Regions from separate parts of the Homo sapiens genome. Here region 2 is linked to region 1. Evidence: promoter capture Hi-C in human tissues and cell types (Jung and others, 2019). All regions are on one chromosome and are shown on one strand. The core of a region is centred on a gene start or on the middle of the fragment in contact, and the rest is flanking DNA. Distances in the headings are between cores, read along the strand shown. Region 1 holds the start of CACNA1S (calcium voltage-gated channel subunit alpha1 S). Region 2 overlaps KIF14 (kinesin family member 14).

The links. Contacts are between HindIII fragments. The study calls those that stand out against the background at their distance.
Region 2: a contact is called between a fragment that was not itself captured here and the fragment with the promoter of CACNA1S in region 1, in 1 of the 25 tissues and cell types used here (thymus).

Annotation. Positions count from the first base shown.
Region 1 is chr1:201,110,375-201,115,729 of GRCh38, forward strand. CACNA1S (calcium voltage-gated channel subunit alpha1 S) reads right to left here and starts at 2,052. Exons shown (of 44, transcript NM_000069.3): 1 at 1,814-2,052. The coding sequence starts at 1,965. ASCL5 (achaete-scute family bHLH transcription factor 5) reads right to left here. Exons shown (of 2, transcript NM_001270601.2): 2 at 3,569-5,355. The coding sequence starts at 4,998. The coding sequence ends at 4,378. RefSeq lists a silencer at 4,179-4,228 and an enhancer at 4,879-5,355. The HindIII fragment of the contact is 14,734 bases long and covers 1-5,355 here.
Region 2 is chr1:200,580,713-200,586,067 of GRCh38, forward strand. KIF14 (kinesin family member 14) reads right to left here. Exons shown (of 30, transcript NM_014875.3): 20 at 489-582. Among named protein-coding and RNA genes, the nearest start is that of KIF14, 37 kb to the right of the region's middle. The HindIII fragment of the contact is 5,297 bases long and covers 1-4,763 here.

The sequences.
Region 1 (5,355 bases), core at 802-3,301:
TGCTGGACAGGCTCATGGACGCTCGCCCACGCTGCTCCTTCCCTGAGCCCCTGCAGGGTACAGTGAGGACCAGGTTCCTGCCTTGACCTCTGGCTCCCTCTCCTCAGGAACAAGTCACTTTCATGTAGACTCCTTGGAATGGCAAAGGTCTGGTCCCTGGCTGAGGGCTCCTCAGCTTTAAGGCCTAGGGGGTCTTCACACCGCTCCACTCTCAGCGCCTGTCCATGCCCTTGCCTGCTCCCAAGGAGCCATGACTTTGGCAGATTCTGGCCAATCCACAGAGGCTTACCCAGATAAATGGCATGGGAGGGTAAGGGTTGATGCAGGGTAAGGTTGAGAACTCACTGAGTAGGACTGGGAAGGAGAGATGGAGAGATGAATGCTGAATTTCCAGAGCCATGTGCACATGCTGGTGTGCACGTGCTCACACCCATCACACCTCACCCCTCCCAGACACACCCACCCCGCCACAGCCATTTCCAGAGGGTACCCCAGGCCCATGGCTTTCTCGACTTTCTGGCCCATTAGGCAGCAAGTCTGGAAAGAGCTAGAGAAAGCAAGGGAGGAAGCGAGGGAGTTGTTTGGGGGTGGATGGGGAGGCATATTACGTAGTTGGGCTTGACAGAAAAATCCCATTCTCTTCCCAGTAACCTCCAGTGTTTGAGAAAAGAGGAGGGCCACAGGGGCAGGGCGCAGAGGAGCAGAGGATGGAGGAGAGGGAGAACCCACAGAGTAAACCTGATTGCAGAAGAGAGGCAAGGAGGGAGGGCCTAGGAGGGTTTGATGTGGGCGATATACCGCCTGGCCGAGAGCGGGTCAGGGGAACAGGGCTGACCCTGACCCCAAACTATCTCTACTTGCCCCACGTTTCTCTTGTCCTTCCAGTTATCCCTCATTCTCCTTCCTTCTAGGGAACAGCTGGTAGGAGCCCAGCCTTCCAGAACTCTTCAGAAATATTTCAAATATGCCCCACCCTCGCTCTCAGAACCCACTTGACACAGCCCTCCCCTTCTCTCTGTCACTCCTTCCTCCCTTCCCCAAATAACCCAGATATTTTCATCATTCTCCCCACCAGAGCAAATGCAAACATAGCATGAGTTTCAAAGTCCCTGTCCCCAGGGTGGCACGTCTGAGCTAGAACAACCAGGCTTGTTTGGCCTGTGTCTTGGAGCCACTGAGACCAGGTGTCTTTCAGATCCATTTCTCCCCTTGGCTCTGTCCTCAGCTGGGACCTGCCCCCAGAGGAAGCCTTCCTTCAGCTCACCTCTGTCCACTGTCACCCCCCACCCAACCCAAACAAGGGAGAGTTTTCTCAAAGAGGCCATCGCATCTTTTTTTGGTCCCTATCCTATTCTAAAATGAGGCTGGTGCTTCAAAAACCTAGTGGCACCCCATGATAATGTGGATTTGGGCACACATGGGAACAGTCCCCATGAAACAGGCCCCACCCATAGGTGGTCAGTAGGCATCTCTGGTTGTCATCCAGGACTTGGGTGGCCCACTCAGGCCCAGGAAGCCCCACCAAGTCCTCCTTCTCTTCCTCTTCCTCCTCCTCCTCTTCCTCCTCCTCCCCCACCCTCCTCCTCTTCCTCCTCCTCCCCCACCCTCCTCGTCTTCCTCCTCTTCCTCCTCCTCCTCTCCTGCTTAGCCGAGGGCTCCTTCCCCCAGCTCCTCACTCAATTCTGTGAGTTCACCCCATGTCTAAGTGCCAGGCCTCCCTGGCCCTCCTGTAGGAAGTTTGTGCTCTGTGATCACCCCGAATCCCTCCCTCATGACGCACACCCCCCCCCACGGCCCGGGCCCTGAAGGATACTTCCATTCTACAATGCTGATGCAGGCCTTCCTCAGGGGGTTCTCCAGGGTCAGGCAGAACAAGGCCCGGGGTGGCCTTGGCAGAATCTCAGGAACTGGCTTCTTGGGCTGTTTCTTCCTCAGGCCTTCATCCTGGGGTGAGGATGGCTCCATGGCTTCCCTGGGAATCTGGCTTTCTCCTGCTCCCCCACCCCAGTGCTTTCCCTTCCCTGTGTCCCCAATGCCCCCGCCTTGGGGACTAGGCTGGCTGAGGCTGTCGGCTGAGCCTGCCCTGCTGAGCCAGCCAGGGGGCGGGGGCAGGAGTGGGGGCAGGAGGATTACTCTCCTCGCTCCCAGCAAGTAAAATTAGCCTCCACTCGGCTCCCCGCTGCCGGGCCTGAGCTTCTGAGGCCAGGCAGCTGTCATTCCACCCAGCCCAGCCAGTGACTTCCCAATCTGTCCCCTGAGGAGGGTGGGGTGGGTCGGGGGAAGAACTTACACACAGGCCTGGGATGGGGCAGGGGCAGTGGGAGAGGGAGACAGGATGGAAGGTTTCAAGCCTGGGGCAACAGAGGTCAGGAATAGGTAGCCTTGGATATGGAACCTCAAACTGCAGAGTGGCCCCCTCATGCCAAAATTAGGCTTACCCCTCCTCAGCCCCATGACATTGTCTGGAGAAGGCACTGGGCAGCCTAAGTCAGGACAGCTCCACAGCAGCCCCTACCCATCTCAGTATCTGCACCATCAGCCAAAACTCCCCAAGCATACCCTCAACCCACCCCCACAAGCAATCCCATGTCAGAGAAACAGTAAACCCCTCTCCAGTGGGCTAGAAGGCTCCCAGAACAACCCTGAGTGTGCACACCTCTGGCATAGCACCTGCCTCACTGTGGAGCATCTGCTGTGTATCTTTCTTCCCCATCTCCTCCCATCCCTACAGGTGTAAAGGTTGTGTGCATTATCTCTGGGACTCTGGCCCCTTCTCTGCACAGTCCCCCTATGTACTATGCTCCCTGTAAATGTTCACTGAGGCCAGGCATGGTGGCTCACGCCTGTAATCCCAACACTTTGGGAGGCTGAGGTGGGAGAATGGCTTGAGCTCAGGACTTCAAGACCAGTCGGGGCAACGTAGTGAAACTCTGTCTCTACAAAAAATACAAAAATTAGCAGGGTATGGTGGTGTGTGTTTGTAGTCCCAGCTACTAGGGGGGCCAAGGTGGGAGGATCAGTTGAGCCTGGGAGGTTGAGGCTGCAATGAGCCAAGATCTGGCCACTGCACTCCAGCCTGGATGACAGAGTGAGACAGAGTGAGACCTTGTCTCAAAAAGAAAAGTTCATTGAGGATAGCCACGGTAATCCCAGCACTTTGGGAAACCAAGGTAGGTAGATAACTTGAGGTGAGGAATTCGAGACCAGCATGGCCAACATGGTGAAACCCGCATTCTACTAAAAATACCAAAGATTAGCGGGCGTGGTGGTGTGCACCTATAATCCCAGCTACTCTGGAGGCTGAGGCAGGAGAATTGCTCAAACCCAGGAGAAGGAGGTTGCAGTGAGCAGGGATTGAATCACTGCACTCCAGTCTGGGCAACAGAGCAAAACCTGTCTCAAAAAAAAAAAAAAAAAAAAAAAAATTCATTGAACGCCTGAGCTAACAACACTGAATCTTAAATGTGCTGAGCTAACAGCGAACCCCACATATCCTCCCAGCAAGTACTCTGGGCTGGGAGTGAGAATAAGAAAGGGGCACCAGGAAGGGTGAGGGTAGACAATGATCTAGGAATGAGAAAATTCAACAATCCTTTTATTTAGCTCTTTGGTGCCGACGCAGTGCCTATGTACCTATATGCACGCCCCCCTCCCCCAAGGCTTACAGTCTGAGGGAAAAAAACCACAGTCCCCACCCAACCTGGGACAAAACTAGACGACCTCATGGGGGGGATGCGGGGAGGGAGTAACCCCCCCTCCCAACCCAGGAAGCCAGAGAACGCCACCGGGGCACACAGGTCGCCTCTGCTGAGTCTGTAGGTTCGGTCTGGGCTGAGCGCCAGCAGCAATCTGGCCTCCCATCCCTTCCTCTGGGTTCCTTTCTCGAGGAGTAAGCGTGCTCCCAAAGAAGTCGCTAGTATCTGAGGCCATCTGGTGGAGAGCAGTGGCATGGTAACCGAGGGCTCAAAGTCGGGCTCGCATCCCGGGGACTCGCAGAGACTGGACTGCGCCTGCGGCAAGGAAGGACGGAGCAGAGCCACCTGAGGCCGAGCGGGAGCCAGACCCAGGGATGACCGTCCTGGGGAGCCCCTCTGCACCCCGGAGGGGACGCAGGACGCCCGGAGCAGTCCCAGGCCCTGCCCCTCGCTTCACCCACGGAGCTCCTAGGTCTCTATCGTGCCCATCGTACCCGCTGCCCTGCACTTCCGCCCCAAGCTGGTGGAGGAGGGAGGGTGTCGCAGACACGGGAGCGCCGCGGACCTCCTACAGTCACCGTCCTGCGGCGCATCGCGGGTGACCCAACAGCCTCCCGCTGCTCCCGAAAGTGGGACGGGGCCGGCGGATCATCCTCCAAGCCGGGGGCGGCCACAGGCCCGATCAATGCCAGGATTCCTCCGACTCCAAGAAAGGCGACGGGGAGAAGCAGGAGGACTCGGATGACTCCGGCACCAGGGAGGAGGGCGCCCGGGCCTCGCCGTCGCCAGGGCGGTCGGGACGGGGGGTGGCGGGCGGCGCGGGGCAGGGCCCGGTGCCCGGGAGGCCGCGGGAAGCGGGGGGCGTCGAGCCGTCGGGGGCCGAGCTCAGCAGCTCTTGCAGGTACTTTATGTAGCGGATGGCGGCGCGCAGCGTCTCCACCTTGCTGAGTCGCTTCTCAGCCAGGGCGCCGGGGAGGTGGCCGCGGAGGCGAGCGTAGCCCTCGTTGACGCACTTGACTCGCTGCCTCTCGCGCTCGTTGCGCTTCTGGATGAAGGCTGGCTCGAAGGGGTATTCGTAGACCCCGAAGGCGCCGGGGAAGGGCACGTAGGGGAACACCCCCGCATAGGCGTCGTAGTAGGGCGGCTCTGCTGGGCCCGGGTACAGCAGGAAGGGCACGTTGCCCAGGGGCTCGGCGGGGGGCAGGGGCGCCTGCCGGGGAGGGGGCATGACGCCCAGCTGCATGCAGCTGGGGGGCCCCAGAGGCCTCCGGTCCACCAGAGCCCGGCAGAAGTTATTGTTCATGGTGCCGCGTGGAGCTGGACCCAGAGCGAGGCCTCCACCGAATGGCCCCGGCTTGGGGTCTGCACCGTCTCCACCAGTGGGGCAAGTCACATCGCTAGCAGCAGCTCTTGGGTACCAGGACTTGCTAGGGCCTCTTTTCGCCCTTTAGGGTGGCTTCCAATGACTCCCTAACAAGAGCCATCGCCCTAGACAAGTGTGGCCCCTCTCAGGAGGTCGGTGCACGCCTTCTCAGAGCCAGCCCATGGCGCCGCGGAACTCTGAGGGCCCGCACCCCGTTCCGCAGCACCCATGGGCATGGCCACAGACCCGCCCACCCTGCCTCTTGCTGCCACCCAACATGGGCACCTCAGGCCTAAA
Region 2 (5,355 bases), core at 865-3,364, 530 kb before region 1:
ATCTCTCTTAATCCAGAATGACCTCTGAAAGGATAAAGTCTCACTGGGGATTCTGGGGATTCTGATACCAGCTCTTTCCTATAGCTGTAGAATGGACTTTAGAGAAACTAAATGATAGCCGGGCGCAGTGGCTCACACCTGTAATCCCAGCACTTTGAGAGGCCAAGTCAGGCGGATCACTAGGTCAAGAGTTTGAAACCAGCCTGGCCAACGTGGTGAAACCCCATCTCTAACTAAAAATACAGAAATTAGCTGGGTGTGGTGGCGCACACCACCCAGTAATCCCAGTTACTCAGGAGGCTGAGGCAGGAGAATTGCTTGAACCCGGGAGGTGGAGGTTGCAGTGAGCCCAGATTGCGCCACTGCACTCCAGCCTGGGCAACAGAGCAAGACTCTGTCTCAGAAAAAAAAAAAAAAAAAAGAGAAACTAAATGATATAAAGGCCAACTTGTTTAAAACATTTAAAATCAGGATAATTAATTACTCACCTGCCAAAAACATAGTATGTTTTCAATTTGCTGCTGATAGCATTGGCTTCCTGAATCATCATTGAGAGTTTCATAGAGCTCCAAGTTGTCTGCACTAATACAAAGCACACAGAAAAGATTCAAAATACATACATGGACACTAACATATACCATTAGGCAAAACAATTCCTAAAAAAAAAATCACTGATTTTAAATGAATGGTTTTAACTCTATATTGCAGAAGGATAAGTGATATTTGAGTAATTTGGTGAAATAAAACATTTTTCCTATAAAATGAGGTTTTTGCCTGTGGGAAGATGTAAGAAAATGGAAGTTGATATAAAAAAGATAAGCCAAAGACAATGCTTTACTTTCTAATATCTAGAAAAAAATTTTTTTTCTAATGTCTTTTTTCTTTCTTCCTCATTTCTAAATTATTTCAAGTATTGAGTATTCTATAGTCTTACTTATGTAGAAACATGTCCTTTTGTATTTTGCCTAAAAATTTTAAAAAATGTATATATATATGTCAGGACATTAAAATAAAAAAGGAAAATAATTTAGTACACAATTTCACTTTCCTTTTTTTTTTTTTTTTTTTTTTTGAGTCAGGGTCTCACTAGGTTGCCTAGGCTATATAGTACAGTGGCTCAAGCATGGCTCACTGCAGCCTTGACCTCCCCAGGCTCAAGTGATCCTCCCATCTCAGCCTTCCAAGTAGCTGGAACTACAGGTGCATGCCACCACACCCAGCTAACTTTCTTATATTTTGTAGAGAGGAGGTTTTGCCATGTTGCTCAGGCTGGTCTTGAACTCCTGGGCTTAAGCAATCTACCTGCCTCAGCCTTCCAAAATGCTGGGATTACAGACATGAGCCACCACACCCAGCTCCTAATTTGAATTTAAGATTATGACTGGGCACAGTAGCTCATGTCTATAATCCCCATATTTTGGGAGGCTGAGGCAGGAGGATCACTTGAAGGCCAGAATTTCAAGGCTTGCCTGGGCAATATAGTGGCACCCTATCTCTAGAAAATAAAATAAATTAGCCAAGCAAGGAAGCATGCACCTGTAGTCCTAGCTACTGGAGAGCCTGAGACAAGAGGATCACTTGAGCCCAGGAGTTTGAGGTTGCAGTCAGCTATGATGGCACTCTGCACCCCAGCCTGTGTGACAGAGCAAGACTTTGTCTCAAAAAAAAAAAATTTATCATAAATATTTTCTATATTGTTCAGACAAACTTATAACCAGTAATCTACTAAAAATAGCTTTTTGGAAGGATAAACTCATTCACATGAATTAAAAAATCAAGTAATCATTGTAAGGCACTGTCTAGGCCCTCAGAAGAATAAAAGTATTGCCTCCTGGCAATAGATACAAAGAGTATTGGCTGGGTGAAGTGGCACACAGCTGTAATCCCAGCACTTTGGGAGACCAAGGCCGGTGGATCACCTGAGGTCAGGAGTTTGAAACTAGCCTGGCCATCATGGTGAAACACTGTTTCTACTAAAAATACAAAAATTAGTCAGGCGTGGTAGCGGATGCCTGTAGTCCCAGCTACTCGGGAGGCTGAGGCAGGAGAATTGCTTGAAAGCGGGAGACAGAAGTTGCAGTGAGCTGAGATTGCGCTACTGCACTCCAATGCACTCCAACCTGGGTGACAGAGCAAGACTCTGTCTCAGAAAAAAAAAAAAAGAGTATTAATATTTTAAAAGTTATTTTAAAGAAGTTACAGAAAGTACACAACATACCTACCAAGTATTCTTGCTAAAAAACTGAACCTGAATTTGATAGGCCTGAAGATCTAACTACCACTTTCTAGGGAATACTGGAACAGAGGAGCCTGTTAAGTAACACCAGGCAGACACAATCAGCAAAATCCAGAATCCAAAAAAACTCTACAGGACAAATCATCTGATTTCTTCAGCAAATTACTAGATGAAAGAGAAGAGTGAATTTACAGATTAAAAGAGACTTAAAAGGCACATCTACCAAACGCAATGTGTAGATGATGTTGGTATCCTGATTCAAACAAATCAAGTTTTTTTTTTAAAAAAAGGATGAAACAATCCAGGAAATACGAATATGGAGTAAATATGTGATGTGTAAGAAATTATTATTAATATAGTTATGGCAATGCTTAAAAGAGTGACAGAGAAAGAGAGAGAGGGAGAGCAAAAAGAGAGTCCTTATCTAATTTAGAGATACACAGTGAAGTGTGTACACCTTAAATGATATGGTGTCTGGGATTTGCTTCAAACTAGTCCAGGGAAGCAGTGAGCTTGAGGATAGCGGCAACAAGATTGAACATGTGTTGATAATCATTGAAGTTGGATAAATATATAAAGGCTTACTGCAGCAATCTCTACTTTTATAGTTTGTTTAAAATTTTCCATAATAAAAAAGTTTATATTAAAAATATGCTGTGTTTTACATAGAAATGTACCAAAAAAAGTGCAATCAAAAGTCTCCCAGGACTTGGCTAGGCATGGTGGCTCACACCTGTAATCCCAGCACTTTGGGAAGCCGAGGCAGGCAGATCACCTGAGGTCAGAAGTTTGATACCAGCCTGGCCAACATGGTGAAACCCTGTCTCTACTAAAAATACAAAACTTAGCTGGGCATGGTGGTGCATGCCTGTAATCCCAGCTACTCAGGAAGCTGAAGCAGGAGAATCGCTTGAGCCTGGGAGGCAGAGGCTGCAGTGAGCCAAGATCACACCACTGCATTCCAGCCTGGGCAACAACAACAAAAAGACTTTAAAAAAAAAAAAAATAGTCGGGCCGGGCCCCGGTGGCTCACAACTGTAAACCCAGCACTTTGGGAGGCTGAGGTGGGTGGATCACGAGGTCAGGAGGTAGAGACCATCCTGGCCAACATGGTGAAACCCCATCGCTACTAAAAATACAAAAACTGTACTCCCAGCTACTTGGGAAGCTGAGGCAGGAGAATCACTTGAACCCGGGAGGCGGAGGTTGCAGTAAGCTGAGATCGTGCCACCATACTCCAGCCTGCCAACACATAAGACTCTGTTTCAAAAAAAAAAAAAAAAGGTCTCACAGGACTTAATGGCTTCACTGGTGAAGTCTACCGAACAATTAAAGAAGAATTAATGCTAACCCTTTTCAAACTCTTCCAAAAAGCTGAAGAGGAGGGAACATTTCCAATTCCTTTTGCAAGGCCAGCATTACCCTGATACTAAAGCCAGACAAAGACACTACAAGAAAAGAAAACTACAGGCCAATATCCCTGATGAACATAGATCCAAAAATCTTCAACAAAATACTAGCAAACCAAATTCAACAGCACATTAAAAGGATCATACACCATGATCAAGTGGGGTTTATCACTGGGATGCAAGGATGGTTTAACATATACAAATCAATAAATGTGATATACCACATTAACAGAATAAGGATAAAAATCATATGATCATTTCAATAGGTGCAAAAAACCTTTGACAAACTACAACATCCTTTTATGATAAAGACTCTCAACAAATTAGATATAGAAGAATGTACCTCAACATAATAAAGGCTATATATGACAAGCCCATACCTAACATCTTCAATGGCAAATAGCTGAAAGCTTTTCCTTTAAGATCAGGCACATGACAAGGATGCCTACTCTCACCACTTCTATTGAACATAGTACTGGAAGTCCTAACAAAACCAGCTGGGCAAGAAAAAGAGATAAAAGGTATCCAAACTGAGAAGGAAGAAGTAAAATTGTTAGTTTATAGACGACATGATCTTATATATAGAAAACTCTAATAACACCACCAAAAGTGAAATAAGCCAGACATAGAAAGATAAATACTATATGATCTCACTTATATGTGGAATCTAAAAATGTTAAACTCATAGGCACAGAGAGTAGAATGATGGTTACCAGGAAATACAGGATAGGGGAATGGGAAGATGTTGGTCAAAGGGTACAAAGTTTCAGTTATGCAGGATGAATACACTCTGGAGGTCTAATGAACAGAAAGTTGCCTATAATTAATAATACTGTATTGTATACTTGAAATAAGAGAGTATATCCTAAGTGTCCTCATGACAAAAAAAAAAAAAAGAACTAGGTGAGGTGATAAATATGTTAACTAGCTTGATTATGGTAATCATTTTGCAATATATGTAAAAACATCATGTTGTACATCTTAAATATACATAATTTTTATTTGTTAATTACATCTCAGTAAAGCTAGAAAAAAAATCTCTTAAGAAAAAAATGTCTAAGTGAAAAAGAAAACAACGTAATCCATGACTAAGCACAACTATTAACAGATATAAAACAAAGATTAAGAATTAGAATAAGATATATTTTTTAAAAACATGCTGCACATTGAAATTTGGCTTACTATTTGCTCAGTTGCAGTACTATTAACAAATTGCCAGACTGGGTGGCTTATAAACAACAGCAATTTATTGCTCACAGTTCAGGAGGCTGGAACTCTGAGATCAGGGTTCCAGCGTCGGTCAGGTTCTGGTGAGGGCCCTGTTCTGGGTTGCAGACTACCATCTTCATGCTATGTCCTCACTTGGTGGAAGAGGTGAGGGGACTCTCTGCAATTTCTTTCACAGGGGCACTAATTCTATCTATGAGGGCTCTACCCTCATGACTTACTCACCTGCCAAAGACCTCCACTTCCTAACACTGCTGCCTTGGAGGTTATGAATTCAATATATTAATTTTGGGGGAACACAAACATTCAGTCTAAAGCATTGATATAATAAATATTCTAAAAGCTGAATATTCAAAAACAACCATTCATACAAATTTATTTAGATCCAGAAAAGTCAACAACTAGAATAAAGTATTTTGAATATGTAAAGGCAACTAATGCTAATATTTTAGTAATTATATTACATATAACATGCATAATTTT